Linked DNA regions of Homo sapiens: all the other regions are linked to region 3. The links are contacts of gene promoters, found by promoter capture Hi-C in blood cells and fetal thymus (Javierre and others, 2016). All regions are on one chromosome and are shown on one strand. The core of a region is centred on a gene start or on the middle of the fragment in contact, and the rest is flanking DNA. Distances in the headings are between cores, read along the strand shown.

Evidence for each region. Contacts are between HindIII fragments. The CHiCAGO score rates a contact against its expected background, and 5 or more counts as called.
Region 1: a contact is called between a fragment that was not itself captured here and the fragment with the promoter of BTBD1 in region 3, in 1 of 17 cell types (activated CD4 T cells). The highest score is 5.9, in activated CD4 T cells.
Region 2: a contact is called between a fragment that was not itself captured here and the fragment with the promoter of BTBD1 in region 3, in 4 of 17 cell types (fetal thymus, naive CD8 T cells, naive CD4 T cells and 1 more). The highest score is 9.1, in fetal thymus.

What each region holds. Positions count from the first base shown.
Region 1 is chr15:81,291,787-81,295,453 of GRCh38, forward strand. It overlaps IL16 (interleukin 16), which reads left to right. Exons shown (of 19, transcript NM_172217.5): 12 at 770-1,251. Among named protein-coding and RNA genes, the nearest start is that of STARD5, 31 kb to the right of the region's middle. RefSeq lists enhancers at 726-855, 1,668-2,186, 2,366-2,455, 2,486-2,545. The HindIII fragment of the contact is 1,773 bases long and covers 564-2,336 here.
Region 2 is chr15:82,046,276-82,049,869 of GRCh38, forward strand. No RefSeq gene overlaps it. Among named protein-coding and RNA genes, the nearest start is that of MEX3B, 2.1 kb to the left of the region's middle. RefSeq lists an enhancer at 46-992 and a silencer at 673-992. The HindIII fragment of the contact is 2,871 bases long and covers 319-3,189 here.
Region 3 is chr15:83,065,558-83,069,138 of GRCh38, forward strand. BTBD1 (BTB domain containing 1) reads right to left here and starts at 1,695. Exons shown (of 8, transcript NM_025238.4): 1 at 1,194-1,695. The coding sequence starts at 1,594. It overlaps MIR4515 (microRNA 4515), which reads left to right and starts at 1,778; the gene lies at 1,778-1,858. RefSeq lists silencers at 1,013-1,182, 1,423-1,902 and enhancers at 1,963-2,082, 2,093-2,142, 3,580-3,581. The HindIII fragment of the contact is 13,987 bases long and covers 1-2,443 here.

The DNA.
Region 1 (3,667 bases), core at 200-2,699, 1.8 Mb before region 3:
ACCTCACCCTCAACTGGAAAGAAATAGTGACTTCTTCGTGTAAGATTCAAAGTGCCTTGACAGGTAGTTTCTCTGTCTTTGTTATTGAGCCTCAAAATAACCCCAGTGACTTTAAAATTATCATCCTCATTTTACAGATGCAGAAATGGAGTTGGGTCCCCCAGGAAGCTGACTCTGAGATGGAGTTTGGTCTGCAGGCAGTGTCCTGGGGTTCACTACCTGTGGCAGGGAGGGGAGCAGGCAGGGTAGACAGAGGGAGGACGGAGCTGAGGTGCACACCCAACAGCTTCAGCCAAGCCCTGGAGCTCTGCAGCCAAAGTCCCCATTAGAGTTGTCCTATGTTGGCCAACATAGCTGGGCCTCTGTAACCCTATCTCCAGCAGTCCCTGGAGATGGGCTGCCCCATTGGACAAGGCAGCTGTCTGCAGCTGTGGCAGCCCCTGGAGGGACCCACAGCTGAAAGTAGTCTGCCAGCAGCACTCCCCACAGCTGGGACACCAAGCCCTTCCTCGATGGGTGATCTGGGTGGCATATCTCCATATACATCAGTCATAGGCTCAGAAAGCTTGAATGATTTTCCCAACCCAAAGTCATACAGCTCGCCAGGGACCAACACCAAGACTGCCATACTCCAGATCCACAGTGACTTCAGATAAGAAGCAGATGGCCGATGTGCAGTGTGCTGCCCGTGGCAGTCACAGGTGAGGCCAGGGGGTATTTCTGTTTTCTGAAGCTCAGCTGTGAAGATTCTCTTGTGCTTCCCACACAGGTGTCAAAAGGCTGGAAAGCAGTTGGCACGGGCGGCCCACCTTGGAGAAGGAACGAGAGAAGAACTCAGCACCCCCGCATCGCAGGGCTCAGAAGGTCATGATCCGCTCCAGCAGTGACAGCAGCTACATGTCTGGGTCCCCAGGGGGAAGTCCTGGGAGTGGCAGTGCTGAGAAGCCGTCCTCTGACGTGGACATCAGCACACACAGCCCCAGCTTGCCTCTGGCACGGGAGCCAGTGGTGCTTTCTATAGCATCCTCCAGGCTGCCCCAGGAGAGCCCACCCCTCCCAGAGAGCCGGGACAGCCACCCGCCGCTGAGACTGAAGAAATCCTTTGAGATTTTGGTGAGAAAGCCTATGTCCTCCAAGCCCAAGCCTCCACCCAGAAAATACTTTAAAAGTGACAGTGACCCTCAGAAGAGTCTGGAAGAGAGAGAGAACTCCTCATGCTCTTCTGGGCACACCCCACCCACCTGTGGCCAGGTAAGAGGATGGGTCCACAGGTTGAGTGTTTCCAGGACCAGACTCAAATCTTGAGCATGGGCAAATTAGCAAGTTAGTGTTAGCAGGGCCAGAATGAAAGTTTCTCCTGCTCCACCAGAGAGAAACTGTTGCCTAGGACTCAGCTGAGGACTGACCATGAAAAGATGGGTTTGAAGGTTGACAGATAATTGAAGTCCCAGTCCTGCTTGCTGGCATCTGGGTTCCCACCCATAACACACTGGAATTTAAGGTTCCTTTCTTGTGTCATTTTTCACTCACCATGAAGGAAAAATACCAGGGCCCCTGCAGGGTCTCAGTCTTTGCATGTGGATCTTTGAGTGTCCTGCTTGTAGGGAGAATAGTGGCTTAAATAACTAAAAAGGGGCCTGGCACGGTGGCTCATGCCTGTAATCCCAGCACTTTGGGAGGCTGAGCCGGGTGGATCATGAGCTCAGGAGTTCAAGACCAGCCTGGCCAAGATGGTGAAACCCTGTCTCTACTAACAATACAAAAATTAGCCGGGTATGGTGGCAGGTGCCTGTAATCCCAGCTACGCAGGAGGCTGAGGCAGGGAATTGCTTAAACCCGGGAGGAGTGGCTCCTTCCAAGGGCTATTGTGAGGATTAAAGGTAACCACTTAAGGCAAGTACCTGACAGCATCTCAGGCATATTAGCATTCATTGCCATGATCTTTCCCCATCAGGCCCCTTAAAGCCCTCCTTTCCACCCCTTGCATAAAAGGCAGACTGACTGACAGACAGCTGCTGTGTCTAGAACCATTTTATGCGCAGGCTAACCACACTGAGTACTTTCATGTACATTGTGTCAATTAAATCTTACAACCACCTGATGGTGAGAGTCCCAGTTGTGCAAAGAGGGAACTGAGAAACTCGCTCAAGTTCACATTGCTAGTGGGTCACAGTTACCCACTATGCAATGCTGAGTTTCCCATCCTTACCCAGAAGCTGTCTCCCCCATCACGGAATGGCCCTGCAGGGGCCCTGGCCCTTCCCTTAAGCACACCGTGGGCAGGTGGGAGGGGGCCTCTGGAAATCCCCTAAAACAATCTACAGTGAGGGTTGGCAAGCTTCAGGAGGGGTAGCGGTGGAGACGGGATGTTGAGTAGGAGGGGTGAAAGTGAAGGAGGGAGGAGGAAGCCAGGTTACTAAAAAGGAAGTGCAGTTTTGCAGAGCGCTGGCAGGATGTGGCTGGTTAGCAACACATGATGGAGTTATCAGATGGATCTGTTCTCCCACCCCCTCTTTTAAGCCCATATTTCATTTTCCCTTGGGCCTGAGACCTATGAGTCCAGAAGGGCAAATCAGGAGCAGCCAGCTGAGAAGCCAGTCATTTTGCCTTCCTCCTGGAGGCCCAGAAAAGGAGTGCAGTTGCCACAGCAGGTCTGTCCCAGTGATGCCCTTGGCAGAGCCACATAGGGTCAGGGAATATTCCCGAGTAAGGCGTCTGGAGAAGGAACTGGGGTGTCCTCAGGGAAGCCCAGGCAAGGAACTTCCCACAGGTCATCTTTCATGCCCTGTGTGCCTCAGCAGAATACAGGGCTCCCTCCTGTACCTGCCCCCAACAGCACCGTCTCCTGGAGACAAGGCCGTTCTGCAGCTGCCCTCCTCTGTTTGCTCTGGTCTGTCCCACGTGGCCAGCAGATCCTTCTCCCACAAACATTTCCATAAAAGCAATCAGCACGACATAATTTTATTGGGCACTGGAGAGGCGGGGGTCACAGAGAAAGGATCATAGCACGCAATAGAAAACAGGAAGCAATTTGCTTGAGGTCACTCTCAAAATTTCCTTGACCATTCCTGGGGATTTCTCACTGGATGTTTTCTTCCGTGGCCACAGTGTCCACTGTCTCACTCTCCCACTTTTCCCTCCCTGCAGTCTTTTCTCTACAGGGTCCCAAGACTGTTGTCAAGCTGCTATGGATGACCCCCAAGTCTTTCCCATCTACTCTAATTCAAGGGGACTTAACTCTCACAACCAATATGAACTTTGGGATATTTTCTTCAACAAAAAACTAACATCCCTCTTATAAAAAATCAGCCTAAACTCTCCCCCGTGCTTTAAAAAACTTGCTTAAAAAAACACAACAGGATTTTCGAAGAATCCTTTCTTAGAAAACAAACAAAAAAACCAAACAAAAACGTACTTTCTCCCCACTATGCTGAATCTGCTCTCTCCCTCTTTCCTTCTTTCTCTTCTCCCTCCCTCATCCACCAAGCATGGTTCCAGGAAACACTAGTAAGAGAAAAATTTGTGTAAAATCAAATTTATTTCAGGGGCTAATTCTGAAGTCTCCCATGAAGAGGATGCAATATTGGATGTGTTGATGAAAAGACAAAACACATTTGTGCTGTTCTAAGTTGTAAAGCTGCATTGACTGCAGTTGGTATCACATGTG
Region 2 (3,594 bases), core at 504-3,003, 1.0 Mb before region 3:
GAGGCCGCGGGTTGAGCGAGCGGAGAGAGAGCGCCACCCCCCACCCCCGCGCTCGCCGCAGCCCGCCCCGTCCTCCTCCCGGCCGCGCCCCTCCCCCGCCGCCGCTAACGCCTCTCTTTGTTGTCTAATGCGGGACTGGCAGGCTCGGGACACTTGGATGTACCTATCAGCCGAGGACAATCATTGTCCCTAAGTCTCCTCCCTCGCCTGACTGAGAAAAGAAAACGCGCCCAACTCTGATGCCTGGAGCCGGGCTCTAAAAGAGCGGTCCTCAGGAAGTCCCGTTAGTGGCTCCAAATAAACCATCCGTGGAGCCAAAGCTTCCTCTGTGAGAAGAGTCTGTAGTCCGCCCAAAAGGGCGACCCGAGCCCTCCGACACGGAAAACGGGACTCCAGGTCTTGGGGCGCACGGGCAGAGTGACTCCCGGCGCGGGTTGTCCACCTGCGCGGGAGCGCACGAGACACAAAAGCACACGCCCGCCCACACTGGCAACCGCGCGCGCGCGCGCCCGCGCCTGCATTTCTGTCTCCTTGGGCAGCACTTCGCCCAACTGGCCCTGAAACTGAGGATGGGAAAGCTAAAAGCTGGCTGCCGCGCGAGCTCGGCCCGCCCGGCCGCTGGCGACCTCTGGAATGCATGGCACCAGTGTCCAGCACACGCCCGGCGCCCGGGCCGAGACCCTGCGGGTTCTGACACGCGCACGAGCGCCGCGCCGCCACCGCGGGGACGCAGGCCACAGCGCCAGCGGGCGGCGCGGGCGTGCGCGCCCGCTGTTCCCATCCCTCCCCTCCGTGCCCCGCGGCCGAGCATGCGCAGTGCGCGCGAGGAGCGGGCGGGCCCTTTAAGGCGGGCGCTGCGGAGCGCGCGCCGGCCCCGCCCGCGGCCCCGCCCCGACGGGAGGTGAGCGCTCCCTGCCCGGCCGCTCTTTGTGCGCTTCTCGGGGTGGGGGTGGCGGCAGAGGGAGGTTGCGACGGCACTTGCCGGCGAGGACGGCGAGCTGCGCCCCCTCCCGGATCTCCCAGGGACCGTCTCCGAGTGCGAGAGAGAAGGAAGGAGGATTTGAGGGGCGGGCCGGGGCGGTGCGCGCTGGTCCTCTCCGCGCGCATCCCCCTCCGCCGCCCACTAGGGCGGACGCCCCTTCGGGCCCCGCGCGCTCTGCTGTCCTTTGTTCCGGGAGCCGCCGGGCTCGCCGCGCCCTTTGCGTCCCGCTGCGGATCGTTCCGCAGAGCGGCTGGGCCCGCGGTTCATAGAGTCGCCCAAGATCCTCACAGAGGGACGTCTTCCCAAAACAATGAGGCCATGCGGCCGCAGCCGCACACGGGCTGACTGGGGAGATCTCGTGGTGCCGCGGGGCGGTCCCGGGGCTCGAAGGCAGAGGCTCCCCTAGGTGTGCCCTGCCTGACCCCGGCTACAGGAACGAGCGCTGTGGGCCTCGGTTTCTCACCCGTAAAATGAAGAAAATAATCCCCGCCTTTACCACCTCGTGGGTCGTTCGGAAGATTAAATGCGACAGTGGATGGGCGCGCGCTTACAAATCAGTAGACAGTTCCGCAAGCGCCTTTACTTTTGAGAACGCGGTGGTGCAGCTCCCTTCACCGCTTGCTTACCTGGAGCTGTCTTGGGAAAGAGGTGCTGATTATTTCCTTGGGGAAATGGGTTTAGAAGCCACTTACAGTGGTTATTTCCTCAGGATGTTTACGTCAGCTTCCCGGAGCCTGGTGTGTGTTTTTCTTAAAAAGGAATGTTCGATGGGAGGAGGCAGGTGGGAGGATGGTGCCGAGTCCTCCGTGAAAACCACCACTTAGAGCTCCAGTAGGAAATTACTGTATTCTTTTGACCCGGTTTATGGACTTGGAATCCAACTAACTTGGGAATGAGGGTTCTTGCCGAGATGGAGGGTTTTGAGTAAGGGGTCCTGGCTGGGGAGAGCCAGAGATGAGGCCCAGCCTCCCGCGCTCACGCAAGGCCTGTAAACAGAAAGCAGACTGGAAAGGCGCTTGGAGCATTTCCATCTTTTTAACACAAAGGGCTAGTTTCTCGCCTCTTAGCTCTGTTTCTTTGAAATTTCATAGCCTTCGGATTGGGCCTGCTGAGGTTTCTTTTTTTTTTCCAAGTAGAAAATATGGTGACAGTAAAGTTGTTCCTCCGCTGATAAGGAGCTGTGCACGGATAATGGGGTGTAGGGAGAGGTTGCTTCTGCTAGGGAGCTTGGCCGCTAATAGTTTCAGACCTGCCATAACTCCTTCTCCTTGCATCTACAGCGATAAGAATTCAGATGGATTAATTCTGAAACGTGTTTAAACTTAGAGGATTGGATATTTCAGAGGAGTCCCTGGGTGGCTGGGTCATTACCCGGAAGGTGAATGCAACATTTCTCCAAGGTGACATGTTTAATGTCATTCTTCCCTGCTGGATCCTGAAGGCAGGACTTGTACTTGGCTGTAACTGCCAATGTTCAATGAAATCATACATCTTCACCCACATGAAGGATAAGCTGAACCCCTTACCATAGGAATTCATGGAAAGCTGCCGATCCTGAGGTGCCCATGTTCATGTAGCCCAGGTCACCCTCCACAGAGAGGAACACTTGAGTAAAACCTATACAGAGATCCGCATGCTTTTCTGAAGACACCCACAAAAGCGAAGGCACTCTCAAGAGCATGGGAGGGTGGTGAGAGTGATAGAAGCAGTTACTATGTCTGACAGATCTAGTTTCCAGCCCCAGCTGTTCTTCAGTGTTGGCTGTCAAAAGAGGACGGCATCCAGCTTCCCACCTACCTCATAGGGTTGCTTTAGCGAGACGGATAATGATAGCAAAAGCTAACTCGTAAATTCCCAGGTACTCAGCAAATGTAGTTGGCGCTTTACTCACAGCTACTCCTTGCCTTCTCTATTTGTATACCTTACTGACTGGTCAGGATATTTTCCGACACTTGACTGCTGTTGTAAAAGTAACAATCCAGAAATTTTAATTCTCAGTTAGTGGCTTTAATAAGCCAAGATATTGTAAAACTTGCAAAGTCCGGTTCTGTTTTTCAATAGATAATACATCCTAACCCCATAGTTTCTGGATAGACTTTCCCAGGCTCCTTTAGGACCCCAGAGCTTAATTACTTTTCCTGATGCAGAACACATTCCCTAAGGACTTCTCGATGTGGCCATAATATTTTTTATTAGCACAGGAGAGAAGCTTGCAGAATGAGGTCTGGCAGTATAATAGAGAATTTCAGTTGTCATAAAATGAGAAAAAGTAAAGTTATCACACAAAAACAAGATTAATGATGAGGCAACCTTGTTTTGTTTCCAGATGTCTCAAAACTATTTTGTGCACATCTTGCTTACTTTTGCAAATTAAATAGCTTGCAAAAGAAACGGAAATCTTCCTGTGAAAACAAACACATGCTCAGTCAACTCATTTAAGATTATTGAGCACCTCCATACTGTATTATAGGCACAGAGAGAAGTATCGATTATACTGAACTGAAATGAACAAAGGTGGCAGAGGGGCAGGATAATGTCTTTTCCTTGAATACTAGTGATGTCCAAACCCAGTCACACAGAGAGATAAGTGCCCAGATAGTAGTGAGTCGGCT
Region 3 (3,581 bases), core at 445-2,944:
TTTTTGCTTCAGTACTACCCAAGACTCTGCCATTTTAATAACAACACGTTCTACTCAGGCAGCTATTTAAAACCATCTTAGTATAATGAAACAGACATGGTCTTCAGTGTGAGTTAGCTGTTTGTTACCTTGGGCAAGATACTTGACTCTTCTGGGCCTCAGTCCCATTTGTGAAATTGGGGTAAACAATTCTTACGCCTCCCTAACAGGATGGCTGTGATTAAAAGCTAGTAATGCCAAACAATCACCTTTTCATTAGATGTCAATCTACTATCCTCAAATAACCAACAAGCAAATTCTAACATCAAGGGAGGGATTCATTTATAAGCAAATGTGACCTTGTGTGTAGAAACACAAAGCAGGTAAAGCCTCACTTGTCTGTTTTCGTATTTACTTTCCTGGGTCTTGACAACTAATACGTTAATGAAAAACAAAAACAAAAACAAAAAAGTGGCCAGGCGCGGTGGTTCACGCCTGTAATCCCAGCACTTTGGGAGGCCGAGGTGGACGGATCGCTTGACCCCAGGAGTCCGAGACCAGCCTGGGCAACATAGTGAAACCCTCTCTCTACCAAAAATAAAAATAAAAAAAATTAGCCGGGCGTGGTGGCGCGTGCCTGTAGTCCCAAATACTCGGGAGGCTGAGGTCGGAGCATCACCTGAGCCCGGAGAGGTCGAGGCTGCAGTGAGCCATGATCGCGCTACAGCATTCCAGCCTGGGCAACAGAGCAAGACCTTGTCTCAAAAAAAGCGGGGGGAAGGGGGTGACAATAACCCCAAAACATCAGTCCTGCAAGATTTTTCAACTACTCTCTTCCCCCAAACAAAAACATAAAACTTCGCAAATGGGCAATCAGGACAACCTGATCTGCCCCTCTATCCTTGCCACTTGTCTAATTCTGAAGTCTGAGCGACAATCCATAATTGGAATGCGAAACGCCTTTCAATGGTAAAACGCACGCTTGCCTAATGAAGACACTAACGTTTAGTTGGCGACTGAGCCGTCCTGGTTCACAGATTTCGATTTCGACCCTCCGGAGCATCAACGGCTCGGGAGGAAACTGAGGCCCCGGGCGGGTCAGAAGAGCCCAGCCCAAGGTCATCCGGGAGTCCGGGTAGGCCGGGCCCCGGGGATCTCCCAGCCCGGCCCGGCCCGGCCCGGCCCGGCCCGGCCCGGCCCGCGCTGCCGCTCACCTCAGCAGCGCCAGGAAGGCTGCGGGCTCCACGTCCGGCAGCTCGATCTCGGCCGACGTGGTGGCCATGCCGCCGTTGAACATGGCGTCAAAGACGGCGCTGCCGGCCGCCAGCACGAAGCGGTGGGCGGGGATGCGCTGCGGGCCCCCAGCGGCGGCGGCGCCGCGACCCTTGCCCAGTACGAAGCGCACATCGCTCAGCAGCTCCGAGTTGAAGAGGAAGGCGAAGCGCTCCTTCAGCGACGCCTTGGTCGCCTGCCAGTTGTAGAGAGGTTCCCGCTGCAGGGGGAGCAGGGGCCCCAGAGAGGACGGTGAGGGCGGCGGCGGCGGCCCCGCGGGGCCCGGCTCCGCCTCAGCCCCCGACGCCTGCTCCCCAGCTGCGGCAGGCCCGAGTGAGGCCATCCTCCAGCTGCGCGGTTGCCCACGTTATGGACAAAACTCCGCCGCCATCGCCCAGGCCGCCTCCGGAGGCCGGCGCTGCCTCCCTGCCTTCCGGGAAAGGCGCTTCCGGGGGCCTCGCGCCTCCGCAGGCCCCTCCCTGACCGCGCGCGCCCCCGCACGCCCGGGTTGCCGCTGTGCGCGGCCGCGGGAGGTGTAACAGGACTGGACTCCCGGCAGCCCCAGGGCAGGGGCGTGGGGAGCTGGTCCTAGCTCAGCGCTCCCGGAGGTGGAGCTTCTGCAGGCTGGGTGCTGCCGGGCCTACGGGCACCCACCCCCTGGCTCAGTGCCCTGGGTATTCTGACTCAGTAGGTCTGGGGTAGGGCCTGAGAATTTGTAATTTTAAGATGCATCGTGGATCTGCAGGCGGCTCTCACGGCTGCCTTTTTCTTCCTGCAGGCCCCTTATCACCAAGTCCAGCGCCCCCATTGTGTATCTGGGACATGTCCCAAGGCCTGTCCCGAGGAGTGTTTTGCCTGGAAGTGGAGGGGCAGGAAAGTATGGCCAAGGGAACACGTGAGGGAGGGGATGACATGACTTCCCACAACCCTGTACCCCAAGCGTGGCCAAGTCGCCGCTCCAGAAGGCCGCGAAACCCGTGGAAATTCCGGAAGCAGAGGTGGAAGGCTTAGAACCCCAGTGACCTCTCCCCAGGTCCGCAGGTCCCTTTCCCTTCTAATTGACCCTTTGGTTCCGTCCTCTGGGCCTAAGAGACATTTCCTTCTACTGCTTCCACCCCTGTATTTGAAACCCCTCGTGCTTGCCCACCTTCTCTTGTAGCGCTTTTCAGTCCTTGCACTGAACCACTGCCTAAGCTTGAAATTTAAAAAATTAAAAACTAAAACACACACACAATGGAAAAGGCTGTATTATCCCTTCCCAGGCAGTATTTACAACCCGGTCATCATGATTGGGGGACCGAGGCCTTCCTTTTTCTCCCTTCAGTGAGGCAGGCCCTGAGTTAAGTCAGCTGTCAAAAGCAGAACGTAGAAAACCCAAGAAATAGTCCTTGACCAGGCACGTATAGTTGGAAACACCTGTTCTTTGCAGGAAGAGCCTTACAGATTACAAATGCCGTCAAGTAAATAGTAAACCCCAAACCTGGGTTTCTCCTGTAAAATCACTCCACTTGTGAAACCACCAGAGGGGACTTCCAGCTGTTAGGCATTTAGAATGGTAACTTCTTTGGGAGAGGAACGTGCTTGGGAAGAGACTTAAAGTAGTAGGGGCTGAAATAGTGGATGCACAACCCCTTCCCCATTGCCAGCCGGCAATTCCTAAAGACAAAGGGACATCATGCTACTAATGATACCATTATCACACCTAACAAAATTAACCATATCATCAAATCATCTATATATGATTTTTTTTTTTTTGAGACGGAGTCTCGCTCTGTTGCCAAAGCTGGAGTGCAATGGCATGAAGTCTGCCTTCCGGGCTCAAGCGATTCTCCTCCTCAGCCTCCCGAGTAGCTGGGGTTACAGGTGCGTGTCACCACATCCAGCTAATTATTTGTATTTTTAGTAGAGACGGGGTTTCACCATATTGGCCAGGCTCCTCTCCAAGTCCTGACCTCGTGATCTACCCGCCTCGGCCTCCCAAAGTGCTGGGATTACAGGCATGAGCCACCAGGCCTGGTCCTATGTATAATATTTAATGTACAGTTAATATTTGTTTCTCCACTTGTCTCTAAAAAAATTTTTTTTTGAGACGGAGTCTTGCTCTGTTGCCCAGGCTGGAGGGCAGTGGCATGATCTCCGCTCACTGCAAGCTCTGCCTCCCACGTTCACGCCATTCTCCTGTCTCAGCCTCCCGAGTAGCTGGGACTACAGGCACCTGCCACCAAGCCTGCTGATTTTTTTTTTTTTTTGTATTTTTAGTGTGTCCAGAGTTCGTTCCTTCTGGTGGGTTCGTGGTCTTGCTGACTTCAAGAATGGAGCTGTGGACCTTC